Linked DNA regions of Homo sapiens: all the other regions are linked to region 1. The links are contacts of gene promoters, found by promoter capture Hi-C in blood cells and fetal thymus (Javierre and others, 2016). All regions are on one chromosome and are shown on one strand. Each heading gives the region's core, a stretch centred on a gene start or on the middle of the fragment in contact. The rest is flanking DNA. Distances are from core to core; before and after follow the strand shown. Region 1 holds the start of RNF125 (ring finger protein 125). Region 2 overlaps TRAPPC8 (trafficking protein particle complex subunit 8). Region 3 overlaps RNF138 (ring finger protein 138).

Region 1 (2,700 bases), core at 198-2,697:
GTTCAAGACCAGCCTGGCCAACATGGTGAAACCCCATCTCTACTCAAAATTCAAAAACTAGCCGGGTGTGGGGGTGGGCGCCTGTAATCCCAGCAACTCGGGAGGCTGAGGCAGGAGACTCACTTGAGCCTGGGAGGCGGAGGTTGCAGTGGGCGGAGGTTGCAGTGAGCCGAGATAGCACCACCGCACTCCAGCCTGGGCGACAGAGCCAGACTACGTCTCTCTCTCTCTCTCTCAAACACACACACACACACACACACACACACACAGTAAACAGAGAGCACAAATTCACAGCTCCAACTCCACCAGTTATTCAAACACACATTAAGGATGTGCCAATTTTATATAGGGACTTTGTTTTTAAATTCTTCTTAGAAACGACCACGGCTTTGCACCAACTGTGAGTTTTAGCTAAGTACTATGCGGTTTTGAGAAAGTTATTTTACTCTGTAATTTCCGCCGGTTTGGAGAGACCGTGCGTAAAGCAGGTAGCCTGCCACCTCCTGTTACGTTGTGGCTGGGTTTTGAAGGAGTACATTCAGGGGCTTGGCGGCTAACGTCCAAGCCCCACCCTAGCAGGTTGTTAAACTCTAACAACTGTGGAAAGTCACTCGGAAGCTCCAGTTTGACTTGCCCTTTGAGGGGCTGGGTGTCTGTGTTGGGAAAGGGTAGCAGGGGTGGGGGTGGAAAGACACTTTGCACAGATCCTTGTTTGCTTAAGACGAGCCTCTGTGGGCATTCTGGGAACACGTGCACAGCTCCAGCAAAACAAAACGGACCCGGGTTTCTGGGGCAGAGGGAAGCGCAGCCCGTTCTACCGTGTTCAGCGGGGTAACTGCGCTTTGCGGGAGCCCCTGCCTTGTAGCTGGAGCTCGTTTCCTTTCCGTGCCTGGGCGAGCGCTGGTTCTCCAGCCAAGAGCACCCTCCCCAGTTGGCGAGCCCTGGCTCTGGGCGGGACCCGTGCCTGGATCCCCTTCTCTGGAGTTCCGCACCTGGGCTTCGGGAGCTGAAAGCGCAAGGGGGCTACAGGACCCGCTTGTTTATTTTTTCTCCTCCCGAAATCCTGTGTCACCTTCCGACCCGCGTTTTCCCCGTGGTCCTGCATCCGACGGGTCCAGGTTTCTCCCTGCAGCAATTTCCTAAGAGGCTGTCTTCCGTCCCCCTCCTTCCCCACACCATGCCCTCAGCTTCCCCACATCGCCCTCCTTAGGGGTGGGCGCAAACCGAGCTCCCCTGGAACTTACACGTGGCCACAGCGGGTCCGGACAGGCTGGTGTAACACCTCAAGGCACACGGCGCAGTCGAAGGACGTGACGGGCAACTCCGGGTCCCTCCTGCGCTCCAGGGCCCGCGCGGTGGCAGAGGCGGGCGCCGATTTGCCGCTGTCGGTGCTCAGCACGGAGCCCATCGCTGTGCCTCTCGCCCAGACAGCTGCGAAGCACTCAGTGCCTGCCGCAGGGTTGTTTTGTTGCCGTGCGGTGGAGGAAGGAAGTCCCGGCCCAGCTGCGATCGCCGCCTCCCAGCTCTCCCAGCTCGCGCAGCCCAGAAGCCACCTCCGCCGCTGCGCCCAACCCTGGTCTAGGGCAGGGCGAGCGCGCGGCCGCGGGGCTGAGATCTTCGGCAAGCCGCCTAGGTTAAGGCGCGGAGGCGGAGGCGGCAGCCGCCCCGTGCTCTGTCTTGTGGTATTGGGAGGATTGAAACCTGAAACCTCAACTGCAGAGAAGAGGACTTGAGGCAGCAGTAAACCTTCCAAGCTATCACACACAGCTGCTTTCCCCACTGTCAGAAGTTAAGTGCGGGCGTGGCCATGCTTAATGATAATCAGAGAACAGCCGCTTTTAAGGTGAAGTGGAAGACCATCCTCCACTGTTGTCATCACAATAAGCTGCAAAAATGACCTATGACCTATGATTGGGCGTCTCCTAAGACGGTGCTATCGCTACTCTGTCATCCAATCAATAGTCCATTAATGGAGAGATAGCCTGGGTAGTGGAAAGAGTCCTGGAGATTAGGATTCCAATCTTACCTCTCCTACAGAGATTCTAGTGCTAAACCCTGCCATCTCCAGTTTCCTCTGCGGCTCAGGATTTCCTCTGTTGTTTGTACGCTCCCCACCCCGCCCTTTAAACATGATCAGCCAGGCGCGGTGGCCCACGCCTGTAATTCCAACACTTTGGGAGGCCGAGGCGGGCTTGAAACTCCTGCTTGAGGGCAGGAGTTCGAGACCAGCCTGGCCAACATGGTGAAACCCCGTCGCTGCTAATAATACAAAAATTAGCCGGGCGTTAATTTACACTTTTTACGAAGACTTATTTAGTGCCCACTGCACGCCAGACTCGGTTCTAGTGATGAAGACACAATCGTCAACAAGCAAACAAAATCCCAGTTCTCACAGAACTTACTTTAAAAAACAAAAACAAAACTTTGAGATAATTATAGATTCACATACAGTTGTAAGAATAGTACATAGTATATAATACACATATACAATAATATATAATATAACACATGGGATATAATAACGCATATAATACATGTACGTATTTAGCAGGCCATAAACTTCACCCAGGCTTTACTTTTAATTAGGAGATATAGGCCGGGTACCGTGGCTCACGCCTGTAATTTCAGCACTTTGGGAGGCTGAGGTGGGAGGATCACTTGAGCACGGGAGCCAAGATCACACTACTGCACTCCGTCCTG
Region 2 (2,700 bases), core at 164-2,663, 110 kb after region 1:
ATTCTTAAGTAAATGGAAAATATATTTATATTGTTCAATTAAACTATATTATGCACTCTGTGTGTGACATTTAAAAAATCAATTACAAAGCTTATGTAATTTTTGATCTTCTGATATAAGTATTGTTTAATCTGTTTATTTGCTTTATTTTTCTGTCTCATAAATGGAATCTTTAAATCTAAATGTAGTGCTATCATGGTATTTTACTGACTTTAGTATTGAGGTGATTACTGACGTTCTTTAAGATAATGCTGGGGAAAAGCAAAGAAGTACCAGTTGGATGTGAAGGAACTTTATTTTTAAAAATGGTCTTTTAGGGGCCATTCTAAGAATAAGAACAGTACTGAAAAAAATACACTTTAGAGTTCAGTCACCTAAGGTTGTGAAGGGGAACATGAAGAAGATTGTGCAGTATGAGAACTTTTAGCAGAAAGCAGAAATATCAGAAATCTATGCCTTAGCATCCTAGAAGCTCAAAGTTGGAGAATAGTTTAGAGGTTTTACATCCAATGCTTGATCTAATGCTTTAATTTCTTTAAACTTACGAATGACTGCGTCTGTTGACAGTACTCACTGTATTCTTATTAAGTGACCTATTGCATGTCTGATCACCCAAAAATTCTCTCATTTTGCTTAAGGATCAATAAAAAATTCTTGACCTTTGCTTGTACGCTTGATCCTTTGGGAGTGACTATGTTAGTTTTCCATTAAGACAACTTTCAAAATATAGAAGGATAATTCTCATGTCCTCTTTTATATTTTTCCAGTCTAAATATGCCTAGTTTCTGCAACTCTTTCTCAAGGAGTGGCTTCAGACTTTCTTGTCCTGGTCACTTTCTTCTTGAGTTCTAGTTTATGTAAATTCCCTCAAAGTGTGACACTCAGAATAATACATCATATTTACTGGTCTTGTAGAGTAGTCTGGGTATTTTTAGTTTAAGTGTTTTTTTGTTAACTGAGAAACCAGTTCCTTTGCACAAATAAACGTTGCGTTAGATATTTTTCTAAAACACTTCAGTATATTCAGAATTCACTCCAACCTGCTTACACTGTGACCCAAAGAATTTCATATCTGTGCCTCTCTTCTTTCCCCGTCTGACTCTAGTAGTCCATCTCTCTTGCCATTATTCCTTACTTAAGAGGCATAAGCATATGTATGTGCTTATATGAACACTCGTGTATATACATATCATATATAAGTAGATATCCTGAGAGATAATTTGAATTAAGAAGAATTAGGATAGTAGCTTGAGTGTGAAAGGGGATTTAAGAATATAGTAGGTGTGAGTTGGAGTGATAGAATAAGATCCATGGAAGAAGTTATGAATTTGGAGGACGAGAAAATGCTCACTGTAGCAAATAAATGAGGCCAACAGTTAGCAGAGTAACCATAGTTGTTGATGGATTTGATAGTATATTAAGTATGATTAAGTATAACTGCTAATGCTTTTTAAATTTTATTTTGATAGGAATCATATGAAGATGGCCCTTGTACTATAACTTCAAATAAGAATTCTGATAATAACTTGCTTTCATTGGATGGATTAGATAACGAAGTCAAAGGTCTTGATATATTTTCTCTAAGTTTCTCTTTTGATTGAAAATATGCACTGTTGTCAGATCATGCTAACCTTTATAGATAAAAGATGGGGGAAATTTTTCATAATACAGAAAGATATTGGGCAGGTTAGTTTTTCTTCTGAAGATTTTACTGAGCTACTTGAGTTTGTTTTTGACACTTAAAAATTTGTTTTATATGAGTAGTGTATAGATTTCTTTTAAAATATTTTGTAGAAAGCAAGGGAAGATGTGATGCACAGCATTAATTATTTAAAAATTTACATGATTTTGAGAGCTTTATTTCTGACTTTATGATTTTTGTAATGATAACAAATTTTTTTTGTTATATTTTTTCTTACGGCTTAGTTGTACTATTTAAAAGTCATTCTTTATATTATTTAAAATAAAGTATTTTTCTCCATTTCCTGGTTTATACCGATTTTCAAATTACTAATACAGGTACCAAAACAAATATTAACTCAAGCTCATTAATTTTGGGGCTGGGGGATGTTACTGCTGTTTTATCTTAGACATTTACCTATACTGAAAGATAAAGGATTTTAACATTCTGCTTTTTTTTTTTCTTTAGCAGTATGGTAGTATTAGCACTGTTTTCTGTTGCATTCTGAGAGTAAAAGAAATAATCTCTTTTTCAGTAGATGGCTTACCAAATAACTTTAGAGCTCACCCACTTCAGTTGGAGCAATCCAGTGACCCTTCTAACAGTATTGATGGCCCAGATCATCTAAGATCTGCTTCATCGTTACATGAAACAAAGAAAGGAAATACTGGAATAATTCATGGTGCATGTTTAACACTTACTGATCATGATAGAATTCGACAGTTTATACAAGAGTTCACATTTCGGGGCCTTTTGCCACATATAGAGAAAACAATTAGGCAATTAAACGATCAGGTAAGGTTTGATTTTTTGGATTAGTATTTTAAAAATTTAAGTAAATAGTAAATTTAAGAATTATTAAACGTATTTGAAGTTTTGTTTTATTTTCGTTTTAAGATAGGCCAATATTAAGACTTCCCAAAATTACTATCAATGATGAAATTCTGTTCAACTCTAGAAGAGGCTTATTCATTTTCAATAGGATTTTGCCAGCATATTGGACAGTTTTCTTTAAATCA
Region 3 (2,700 bases), core at 185-2,684, 110 kb before region 1:
GGCTGTGACACCCGTTTTCCTGAGATTCTTGTATCCCCCTTTAACTCACCTCCCTTCCCCATCTTTTTTCAAAACTGTACCGCACAGATAATTATGTTACACACTAAGTGATATCATGGAATGAGTGCTTTACTTATATGTCTGAGTTTTATAGTATCTGTATTTACATGTTTTCTGGGTCACACCTTTTCTACATAGTATGCTAAAAAGTCACGCTTCTACAAGGGGTTTGAGTAGCAGCTGTTAAGGGGTTTCTGTAGAAGTTATGATGTATTGAAGATCATAATTAATACTTACCAAGCAACCCATACAAGGTATATGACATTGTATTTGGCAACATAGTCTTATAACCCTGGTATCTTACTTAAAAGTACTATCTATCTCCATATAAAAGTGTTTATTAAGCAAATAAGCTTTCTGCCTAGCTGCTAACAGGGCTTGAAAATCTTGCTCCGCAGACACTTCATAAAATTGCTTTATAAGGTGATTAACATTTGAAATGGATAAAAATAAATAGGTTTATAAAGTTAAATCTGACATATAGCACCAGCATGTGGTAGCTTTTTCTTATCCACTTTTTTAAGTGCAAAATAATGGGTTATCTCCTACGTCTTTCAGTGTGAATTATGAGAGTTAAATGTTTGCCTCCAGACAAATTTTAATTAGACACACAAGTAGGAGAAAACCACTTTTAATTGAAAAATAAAGCAATACATCTCAAATAAGACTCTGTTTTAACAATAAAACTGTAATTTGTTGAAATAGCTTTCCTAAGTGGTATTGTGAAATTTAGGTATTGGAGTATCAATACAATTCCCTCCTTTAATTCTGACTCAGCTATAAGTAATATTAAAAATAAACTTTTCCCCATAAATTTAATTTCCATAAATCTGTAAAGTCTATCCCTATTCCCAATGCACTGACAAAAAGAGGGGAAATTTTAAACAATCATTTTCATACTGAGAAATTCTCAGATAAAAGCAAATAAAGTATTTTCCTTATGAAAAAGCTGATATGTGAGACACACAAGACTATCAATGATATTTAACTCATTCACAAAACTTTAAAACACAATTCCATCAAGATGACCTCTACTACAATTTTCCTTTAAAGAAGTTCCCAAATCCCAGAATGGTTTAACTTGACATATTGGATGTATTAAACTTTGCAAATCCCAGAATGGTTTAACTTGACATATTGGATGTATTAAACTTTGCAAATCCCAGAATGGTTTAACTTGACATATTGGATGTATTAAACTTTGAAAGAAACTATGAAAGTTATTGCTTTAAACTGGAAAACACTATGGTCAAAAGTCTTAAAAAGGAGCTGTTTTTTAAATTACACCCATGTAACTGAAAGAAAATGCTCAAGCACACACATAGTAAACACCACTCTTTAAAATGACAGAACAAAGGCGTATGTTCATTAAGATGTATGGCTTTTCTTGTGGTTGTTATTACAATCCATAAATAAAGTCTTTACTGTTTGACTGAAAAAGGTTTTTACAAAACTGCACTTCCAAAATTAACATTTTTATTAAATCAAGTTAAAAAAAATGTTCAGTGTAGAAAAGTCAACAAGGGTTTTAACAAAACCAAAATATACCTTTTTATACAATATATGTATATATTAGCAGCAAACTACTTCTGAGATTCTCTTTCTTTTATGTTCTTCTAGTTATTTTAAAGAAAGCATAAACAATGTATATTAGTATGGAATGTCAGCAAATCCACTCTTAGTCCTTTATTCTGTGATTTGGGCCTTCTACAAAATACTTTGTGATTCTCACTAATGAATATTAAGAACATACCCAATTTTAACTAAAAAGTAGTGAAACAGTGGTTGGTAGAATCTTTCTCACTATATCACGGTCACACATTATATTTGAGAATAACAAATGAGCACCATATAAACAGGTAATTGTGTGTGTGTAAACTCAATTTTTAAGGTGTAATAGTAGCCAACTAGATAACTTAGCACTGTGACTATCACTTTTTAAAAATTTGGTGATATACAAAATTTTAAACAAATCAGATAAACACTTCAACCCCCTATTGCTTGTCCATTTAAAAAATCCTTAATAGAAATTCTATATATAACCTGACAAACTGCATACACACATATGTGTATATATACACACAAAAGTATATGTATATATACATCTTTAGCTTTGAATAAATTTCTAAACTGAGATGAAGCCAAACCTCTCATTTATATCTTCTAGAATACAATATCACCAACTGAAAGTTTCTAATAAGAGTTTCAACTTAGTTAATCAGAAATACTGGCTACTGAAAATTCTGAGGCCAAAGAGCTGTTATTCAGCTTAGTATATTCTAGGCTTACAAATCAGTCAAAGACTGAAATTATCAAATGCCCATGAAAGAAAGAAATTTTTCTCTTTGTATTTCCTTCTAATAACAAAAAGAAAATATCTTTACAACAAGCTTTCACTTTTTAAAGAATTAAAATTATTACAGAAATCTCACTAGTCTTCAAAAATAGTAAATGTTATATAAATACAATTTTCTTATAGTTGAATTTTTCAGCTAGAACCTGCATTTAAAAAATTTCCTTTGGATTATTCCATTTAGCACTTCAAGTTTCTATTCTGCAACTCTAATAATAACTGGCTCAGATTTGTTAGGTTATATCAATCACATCGTTCAAAATTTGCTACTGTGTGTTAAATGTGTA

Evidence for each region. Contacts are between HindIII fragments. The CHiCAGO score rates a contact against its expected background, and 5 or more counts as called.
Region 2: a contact is called between a fragment that was not itself captured here and the fragment with the promoter of RNF125 in region 1, in 1 of 17 cell types (naive CD8 T cells). The highest score is 5.4, in naive CD8 T cells.
Region 3: a fragment that was not itself captured here is called in contact with the fragment with the promoter of RNF125 in region 1 in 1 of 17 cell types (total CD8 T cells); the score reaches 6.8 in total CD8 T cells.

What each region holds. Positions count from the first base shown.
Region 1 is chr18:32,017,572-32,020,271 of GRCh38, reverse strand. RNF125 (ring finger protein 125) reads right to left here and starts at 1,447. Exons shown (of 6, transcript NM_017831.4): 1 at 1,245-1,447. The coding sequence starts at 1,408. RefSeq lists enhancers at 686-735, 380-1,252, 1,552-1,846, 1,253-2,125 and a silencer at 1,552-1,846. The HindIII fragment of the contact is 17,285 bases long and covers 1-2,700 here.
Region 2 is chr18:31,908,530-31,911,229 of GRCh38, reverse strand. It overlaps TRAPPC8 (trafficking protein particle complex subunit 8), which reads left to right. Exons shown (of 29, transcript NM_014939.5): 6 at 1,470-1,563; 7 at 2,220-2,476. Among named protein-coding and RNA genes, the nearest start is that of TRAPPC8, 33 kb to the left of the region's middle. The HindIII fragment of the contact is 2,641 bases long and covers 93-2,700 here.
Region 3 is chr18:32,129,537-32,132,236 of GRCh38, reverse strand. RNF138 (ring finger protein 138) reads right to left here. Exons shown (of 8, transcript NM_016271.5): 8 at 676-2,700. Among named protein-coding and RNA genes, the nearest start is that of RNF138, 39 kb to the right of the region's middle. RefSeq lists a silencer at 1-185. The HindIII fragment of the contact is 2,037 bases long and covers 416-2,452 here.